Linked DNA regions of Homo sapiens: region 2 is linked to region 1. The links are contacts of gene promoters, found by promoter capture Hi-C in human tissues and cell types (Jung and others, 2019). All regions are on one chromosome and are shown on one strand. The core of a region is centred on a gene start or on the middle of the fragment in contact, and the rest is flanking DNA. Distances in the headings are between cores, read along the strand shown.

What was found. Contacts are between HindIII fragments. The study calls those that stand out against the background at their distance.
Region 2: the fragment with the promoter of DSG4 here is called in contact with the fragment with the promoter of DSC2 in region 1 in 1 of the 25 tissues and cell types used here (heart left ventricle).

Annotation. Positions count from the first base shown.
Region 1 is chr18:31,099,860-31,104,149 of GRCh38, forward strand. DSC2 (desmocollin 2) reads right to left here and starts at 2,562. Exons shown (of 16, transcript NM_024422.6): 1 at 2,044-2,562. The coding sequence starts at 2,112. It overlaps DSCAS (DSC1/DSC2 antisense RNA), which reads left to right and starts at 1,729. Exons shown (of 4, transcript NR_110785.1): 1 at 1,729-1,864; 2 at 3,264-3,335. The HindIII fragment of the contact is 11,144 bases long and covers 1-4,167 here.
Region 2 is chr18:31,374,833-31,379,122 of GRCh38, forward strand. DSG4 (desmoglein 4) reads left to right here and starts at 1,945. Exons shown (of 16, transcript NM_177986.5): 1 at 1,945-2,127. The coding sequence starts at 2,080. The region is part of intron 1 of DSG1-AS1 (DSG1 antisense RNA 1); the gene reads right to left. The HindIII fragment of the contact is 6,705 bases long and covers 1-4,167 here.

The DNA of each region.
Region 1 (4,290 bases), core at 1,312-3,811:
TACCAAAGATATTTCTCCCCCCTTTTTGAGACAGGATTTCGCTCTGTCACCAAGGCTGGGATGCAGTGGCATGACCAGGGCTCACTGCAGCCTGGACCTCCCAAGCTCAAGCAATCCTCCCACCTTAGCCTCTCTCCAGTGACTTGGACCACAGGCGCGCACCCCATGCCCAGCTACAATCATTCTTACTTAATAATTTCTTACACTTAGTATTTACGCATTTCTCACACTTGAGACTCACAACCACAACAGCCACGTGAGGTTGGCAGGGCTTTGCACAGATGTGCACAGAGCAAAAACCAGCAGAATGAGAGTGTAGGCAGGGCCAGCATACTTCCTACCCCACTCCCCGCCTATCAAACTCCGAAGCTAAGGAAGAACAAGGAATGGAAATTCAATTTCAGTGTATTCAGTGATACCCCACCTCCTCCTAAACAGAATCTGAGATAACACACAGAAAGCTCTCTCTGCAGGTATATGCAGAGCAATGCCACGCATTGCCAGCGTCTGTGCATGCCTTTTCCTTTAAAGAATGGCCGGTGGTTTTAAAAGAAATTGCAATTTTATTAGGAGTCTAATGAAAATTTATTTCTTACTCATCAACATATGTTCTGACCGTTATTTATTCCATTCTTGGTTTCCTCATCTGTAAAATGTTAACTGCTGTGTACTTGGCCCTTTCTATGTTATTAATATGCCCTGAGAATTCAGTTAAGGGTTTGAAGTCCATTGAGCTCCTCGAGAAAGACATTCTAATAACAGTAACAATTACCAATTCATGATTGTAAAATGTGGAACTCTACTGCGAAGTGAGAGCGGAAGAGAAGGGGAAATTATACGAATATTTCAGCCCCCAGTTCACTTCTCCCAGAAGGAATTAGCCTTCCGGGTTCCTCCCTTTGTCCTTCAAGATTGATTGGCGCCCAACGCCTTCTGCTTAAGACAAGGAGCACTTTTCCACACCTGTCGATTTTTTTCCTCTTCCAGGGAGCCAGGAAAAGTCCAATCGGACTTTTTATATCCCCAATTCCCCAGACGCTGCTCCCGGCATTGGCTTTTTGCGTCTTCAGGCTCCCCAACGAGATCCCATCGGTCAAGCCTGGGAAAGGGGCTGTCCCGCCCCAAATAAGGCCAACCACTTAGGCTCCCAGCTCTGGGAAGGGGTAGGGTCATTGCTGTAGTGCTCTTTAAAGAAAGAAAGAACCTGGGGCAAGGGGCGGTGGCGCGGGGGGCGGGTGGTGAGCAGAAAAATCGAGTCGCCTCTGGGGACAAGAAATCAGAAAGACCCTTCCTTCCTCCGAAGATTTAGGGAACTGAAGCCTCGCACGTTAAGAAACCACTGAAACTGTACAAATGCTCACCTAGGGCTCGCCGGTCGACAGTCCTCAGGAGCAAAGGGTCAAGATCCCCTCCCCCACCCGCCACTTCCCCCCGCCCTTCTCTCAGAGTAAACAATTCCCAGAAAGGCGAGCAGTTCCCTTTTTCACCCAAGGACACTCGCTCTCCGTCCCGGCCGCCCAGCGGTTCCCCTTTCCGTGGCCTGGGCAGGCGCTGAGGCACAGGGAGCCGCACGTTCCCGAGGCACAGGGAGCCGCACGTTCCCGAGGCACAGGGAGCCGCACGTTCCCGGGGAAGGTGCCAGAGGCCAGCTGGACGGCCCCGGCGCACTCCCGCCCCGGCGCACTCCCGCCCCGGCGCACTCCGACCCCGGCGCACTCCCGCCCCGGCGCACCCTGCTCCCCGGCGCGTACCCAGGGGCCACGATTTTGGCTGGGCGAAAGCGGCCCGCTCCCGCCTCTCCTTGAGTGCGCTGATTACATCTACCGGAGACACCTTCCCTTCCCTTGGGGATCCCAACTCTCAGGTCGCGATCCTCTTCCTATCTGCCCTCCCCCACCCCCGCCAACTCCATTTTCTAGCCACCCAGAGGCCCCTTCACCCCAGCTTTTCCCGCCACCCCCACCTATCCCCGTTCCCCTAGTTTTCCTCTGCACCCTAGGCGATCGCCCCCTTCCCCGGAGCGGTGGCCGCGGCTACACTCACCGCGAGGGTCAGCAGGAGCAGCCGGCAGAGGGCTCCGTTCCAGGAGCCGGAGGGGCGGGCTGCCTCCATGGAGAGGGCTCGGGGCAGGTCGCGGGCCGAGCGTCGGGCCGGGGTAGGAGGGCTCCGCGGGGCGAGGGCCGCGGCCGGAGCGCAGTCTGGGCCCGCTGCTCAGGAGGAGCGCGAGGCGGAGGAGGTGGGGCGCGCGGAGAGGTGCTTTTCTTAGCTTCTCTGAAGCGCCTGCCTCTCATCCAAGGGGCTTTTCCTTTGGCGGAGGGAGGGGCTCCAGACGCGTCCAAAAGACACCGATCGGCCCCTCCTTGTTGTCTATTTAAGACTTAAGACTTCATTTCTCTAAGAAAGCCACGGGTGGGAACTCCCTCTCGCCGCCACCCTTTTACCTGCGCAAGGTGTTTCTCACCAGCGGACGCCACCTATAAGGCCCATCTCCCCCACCACGCCCCGGTGTCCGCTCCGCCAGGCGAGATTAACAGCCGGCCCTGCCCAGCAGAAGCCCTGACTGCACAAAGACTCACTCCTGAGTGCGCGGTCGGCCCCGGCTCCGCCCTGCCCGCTGCCCTCGGCGACGGCCGTGGTCCCTGCCCTGGGGTCAATTACAGAGCGAGGTCTGAGCCGCAGAGGCTGGGTTTTAGGTCACAGCTGCCTGAGGCCCACCTGACAGAAAGTTGACTCCAGGGAGACTGTTACACACTCTACTGGAGTGAATTTCCTACACACACCCACAAGCAGTTCAGACATCATAGTCATCTGAGGCACCATTCTTTGGGGTCTTGTGTTTTTAGGAATTTACTGGCATGACAATGATACAAGACAATCGCCATAATTTAGAGACAAAAATACATATATACATACATACGTACGTAAAGTTAGGGAATCAAGGCGACTGCAAAATAATAAAATCGAGGGTGAGTTACTATAAGAAATGCATCCATTGAGGTCCTAGTCGTGGGCTACATGTGGTTACTGATTTTCTCCAAGAACATCCCTGGTCACAAATAGAGTTATAACTTATTTCCTATACCGGACTCCTGAACATCCAGTGGAGAGTTCTCACCTTCTTTACTACCATCAAAACCAGAGTTCATGGTGAGAAATGAATAAGAATGGGATAATTTACATTTTTATTTGAAGTGCACTTAAACTAAATGAATTATTGCAGCACACAATCTGGAAGATTAAGATATAAATGCTGTTTCTTTTAGCTCTTCAGAAAGCAATGACAAGGCATCTGACTCATCCTCCTGCACCTCTTTTCAATTACTGACTTAAACCAGGTAAGCCTGACCACAAAAGAGAAACTTGTCTGCTCCCTTTTATTTGGTTTAAGTTTCCTCAGGGATGTCCTGAGAATCCTATGTGAAAAGCCAACCCTGACACTCACACCATTTCGATTCTTGAAAATGTTCACCATCTTAACACCATTGTATGCCGAGCCAGAATTACTGCAATACTGAGTGTATATTTAAATTAAAAATTAATGTCAAACAGCGCATGCCTTACATTCTCTGTGTCTGTGCTATGCTCATGCCCTATTTTATTAACGAATGCCACTAATGAGCTGTTCTGTCTCCATATCCATAAAATTATCATTGACCCTTTGCTAGTAAAATAAGCCTGAGTCATCAGCATGAGACTATAATTGACATCCTTCCGTTTCCATATTTTTTAACACTCATAGTTTTCCATCAATGATACCATAAGCACACCTCATCCTATTAAAGATGACATCATGGTCTCTAGCATGAAGCTTTTCAGAGGACAAAAAGAAAGCTATAAGCGTTTCAGGTTCTGGAGATCTACTCAGACTATCATCACAGGCTTTGACTATAGGACATTTCCAAACTCTTGCCTACTCTTTACCCTCTGATGCCTTAAGGGCAGCTCATGTTTTTCCTCATTCCAGGAAAGGGCGGAAGAGCAATTTGACTAGAATTCATCTTAGATATTTATTTTCCTCTTTCACATTAATTGATAGAGGCTATTAAAATGGTGATTTGTTTGTTTTATTCCAAAAAAAACTTTCAACAAAAGAATGGAATATAAAGTACTTTCTCTGAGCAAGTACCCAATTTATTTAATGTATTTAGGTTAGGCTATATGGTCACTGAAATAGATCCCTCTAAAACATAGGTTTGAAACAAAGGGCATATATTTAAAAAAAAAATGGAATGTGAGTAGATGTGATCTTTTTTTAAAAGAATGACTTTTGCTTATGAATATGATTCTGCT
Region 2 (4,290 bases), core at 695-3,194, 270 kb after region 1:
GTAGCTCACACCTGTAATCTCAGTACTTTAGGAGACCAAGGCAGGAGGATCACTTAAGCCCACGAGTTTGAGACCAGCCTGGACAATATAGCAGGACCTTGTCTCTACAAAATATTTTTAAAATTAACCAAGTGTGGTGACATGCACCTGTAAACCCAAGTACTTGAGAGGCTGAGGTGGGAGGATCACTTGAACTCAGGAGGCAGAGGTTGCCGTGAGCTGCACTCAGACCACTACTGCACTCCAGCCTGAGAAGCAGAGCAAGACTCTGTCTCCAAAAAAAACTTTAAAGCAAAAGATCATTCCCACAAATCTCCAAGGAGTAAACAGAAATGAAATGATGGGGCTTCAGGTAGTTCCTCCTTAGTTACTGAAGAATCTTTTAAATATGTTCATAATTATAATCTGGATTCAAATTCTGGATACCATTGAAATCAGGAGTTTCAAATGGAGAAAGCTAGAGGTACCCACATAAATGATCTAGTACCTATTTCTATTGCTTCCTGTTTCTTTTCTTTAAAACTCATCCTATAAATAGCATTCAAGTAGATAGAAAATCTTATATTTAGAAGAAAATATAAGAAAAATCTTATATGTAGAAGAAATCATCTATAGTGTAAACAAAAGATAGAGACCTTTGTGAAATATCTCCTTCAAACACAACAATAGAGAAGAATGTTGTTTTTCCCTTGTAAAAAGCAATGTCACTTAAAGACCTGGAGTTGTTTCATTAATTCTCTTAGGCAAATTAAATTATCTAATTCAACATGACATGAAATAATGCAAAAGTAAATTACTTTATCTGGCTTCCAAAAATACTAAAACTACTTTTCTCAAGAAACTAAGCAATACTTAGAATACATTCTATTACCAGGGTCAACCTTGTTTCTGAATTACAGTGATGGGATAGTGAAGACAGGAGGCAGTCTCCCTTTGAAATTCTCCAACCAACATGTATTATCTATCAATCAGAGAACAGTTAACTGCATTTTCTTTTAAGTTTATTGATGTTGCTGCCAGCCTGCAATGTTTGCATCAGGACACTCTATACCCTGTTTCAAACCCATACTAACAAAGGAAAAGGGAGACACGAAAAAGGGAAATAATATTCAAAAATATCCAGATCCCACTCTGGGCTTTTTTTCATTAAATTCTCACGTTTCCAACTTCAGTTTCTCCTTAATAAATATTTGTGGTGGTGTAAAATGTGTTCCTCACCCACATTATGTACTTTTTATCAGTGGTAATACTATGAGAAGTGAGAATGTTGTATTGTAGTTACTTTAAAATGATTTTGTAAATATCATATTGTAGAGGTTTGACTGAATAATCAAGAAAGAAAATGCCAAAGTATGGAAACAAACATACTGGTACTAGTTAAATCAGAGTTCCTTCATCTTAACTTTGTTATTTCAGAAAATCTTTAAAATTGAGAGTGCGGTTCAACCACAAGACATTTTAAAGAGAGAAGCAGGACTCAACTGAATTGAAATGAGCGTCATTATTCTATCTTTCTTCCTATACCATACTTGAGTCCTGATGACTTTCAACAATGGCCTCTGCTAAAAGTATCATTCCTTGAAGTGGGTTCTGCAGTGGACATGTGTGTGTATGTGTTGTCAGTATATGTAATTTTGCTTTTACAATGTTGGCAGTAAGAAGAAGCCTTCTAATTTTATTCAGCATGATGATAGGCCCTAGCATTTTAATTATTTTTTATGTTGTGAGTAATTTATTATTCACTGGCTATCTTCCCTGTAAATCTTGTCCTCGCTCTGTAAGGTTTTTCTTTGGTGTCCAACAAAGGGTTTCATTGCAATAAGAATCAAGGTGTGTCTAAATTCTTACCCAGAGCCCAAACAATGCCAGTCTTCCAGACCAGCCTGGGAGTTTGGGGTGGGGAAACAGTCATTATAGAATATCTTCATCTCTCTGCCCAGAGATCACCACAGTTATCACCCATGCCCTCCTAAAAGGGTGTCTCAAAGCATATCTTTCTGTAGAGCAGAATTCGGAACTGAGAAGACGAGGGCTCAAATTGAATCTCACAGGATTTGCGTGCAAGAGAAACCCAAAGGAATGGATTGGCTCTTCTTCAGAAACATTTGCCTTTTGATCATTCTAATGGTAAGTAGAATTTAAAGAGGTGGGAAGGAAATGCAGCCTCAAGGTCTTGTCTCTGTCAACTGTCGGGCTTTCTACATGGGATTTATTCCATTTTTAATCTCCTTCCTGCAAAGAGAGTTCTAGAAGTCCAGCCTCTGTTAATTTCAAACAACTCTCTCCGCCTTGAGGAACAAAATGCCATAGAGAAGCGGGGTGAGAATCTGGCTGAATTAAATTTATATGCCCTCAGAGACATAATCTACTTCACTTTGAGTGTTAGGACTATTCTAAAATTTTAAATTGGAAATAAAATTCATATTCTATGATCATATAAATAAATCAGATAGATTGCTGTGAAAACTGCCAGTGCAAATGGGTTCTAAATTTGAAGGGAAGTTAATCAAACCCATTTCTTTTCAATAGTTATTTCCCTATGAGTTTCTTTCAAAGTGGAGGAATGATAGCCATGTTGAAATTACATTGCAACTAATGATGACATACTAAAGTCATGAGAACTTTTTCCAGTCAGATATTGCTAAAGAAAAATGAAGCCCAGCCATCAAGACAAAACTTTTCTGGAATTATGAATGCATTCCTACAGACCAGCAAAGAAATATTTAAATGACTTATTTCTTTACAGTAAACATGGCATCTTGGATATTATATTTCTTTCCTCTAACCTTTGGGTGCCCAAGGTGTGACATGATTTCCAGACAGGCAGCATGCATAGCAAATATCCTACCCTAGAAAGAGATAATTCCAACTCCAAAGAAGAACAAAGTTCCAGTTGGCCAATCAACAAACTATTGCCAATTCTGGGAGGGTAAGAGGACAGGATTATTAGGAACTGTACAAATTTTTCAAAGTAAATTAAGACAAATGCATTATAGTTGGCCACACTTCAATCTCCCAGGAGTATCCAGGTTAGCGCTACAACCTAAGCTTAGAAAGTGATTCCCATCCTATTCTTAGGCAAGTGGCAATTATACCAGACTCCTCTGAACATCAGTTGTAAGAGACAGAGAGTAGCTAGGGCTGGGAGAGATGGGAGCACGTCATTGTCCAAGAGGCACAGTGAGAGCTACTCTTCTGGAATTCACATTTCTAAACTTCAAGAGCAGTGCGGGAGCCGAACACTGCCAAAGGGCACACAACCCCAAGCTCAAAAGGGAACGTGACAACAGTGGTAGAATATTGCATCCTCTGAGTTTAGGAGACAGATTATTAAACAATACCATTTTTGAAAAATATTTTTAAACTTAAAAACATAAGACGAAGGGCAATATTCTGTTACAATGATCATTATTTATTTACTAAATAAAATAAATGTTACTAAAAGAAGAGGCAAGAATCGGACTTGGTCTTCAATTGAAATAGTAAGTTATGAGGATATACCTCTTGTTACTCTTCTACCGAGTATATTCATGCTTTGACTCAGATAAACTTTTGGTTTTCTGTAAGGAAAATTGTATGTGTCAAGATTTTAGAGGCCACTTCTGAGCACTAAATCTTGCCTCCCATTGCCTTCTGCACAGGCATGATTTATGATAATATTATTTAATTGAAGAGTTGATTCTTCTCCTTGATCTTGAAAGAGTATTATACTTCAGACTCTCAGGATCTTTTTTTGGTAGTATTTATTTATTTTCCTTGGTAATACTAGCGTTTTTAATACTTAATTCCTCCTACTCCTCATTGATATTGAAGTCTTTGTGTTTGACATTTCACGGTAATTGTGAAAAAGTTCTTTAAGTATTTTTTTTCTTTATGCTTGTCTAAAAGATCCCTTACCATATCAATTAATAGTGTCTGGAATTGGGAGGTAGAGACTTCTGGCATATTTCAAAATTGAAACAAATACAAGAATTGTTTAAGGAGAATCAATGAGATGTTATAGATATTATAGGAAAGTAGACATGCCTACTTCTCTTTAATTTCCTGAACTTGAACTCTGCCCCTTCTTCATTAACTAAATCAAAGACTCTCTGGGGCATCATTGCAGCTTACACTAATGAGGGTGTGGCAGCCTCTCAGAGACTCACAGGTACTTTGTGTCAGCTACATCTCAACCGCAAAGAGCACTGTAAACAAAGTTCTGACTGGCTAACCAGCAAAAGGTACTCAAAACTCTAGATTACAATAGGGCACTGATTTTATCACGAGTCATTTGGCATTTTCTTCCTA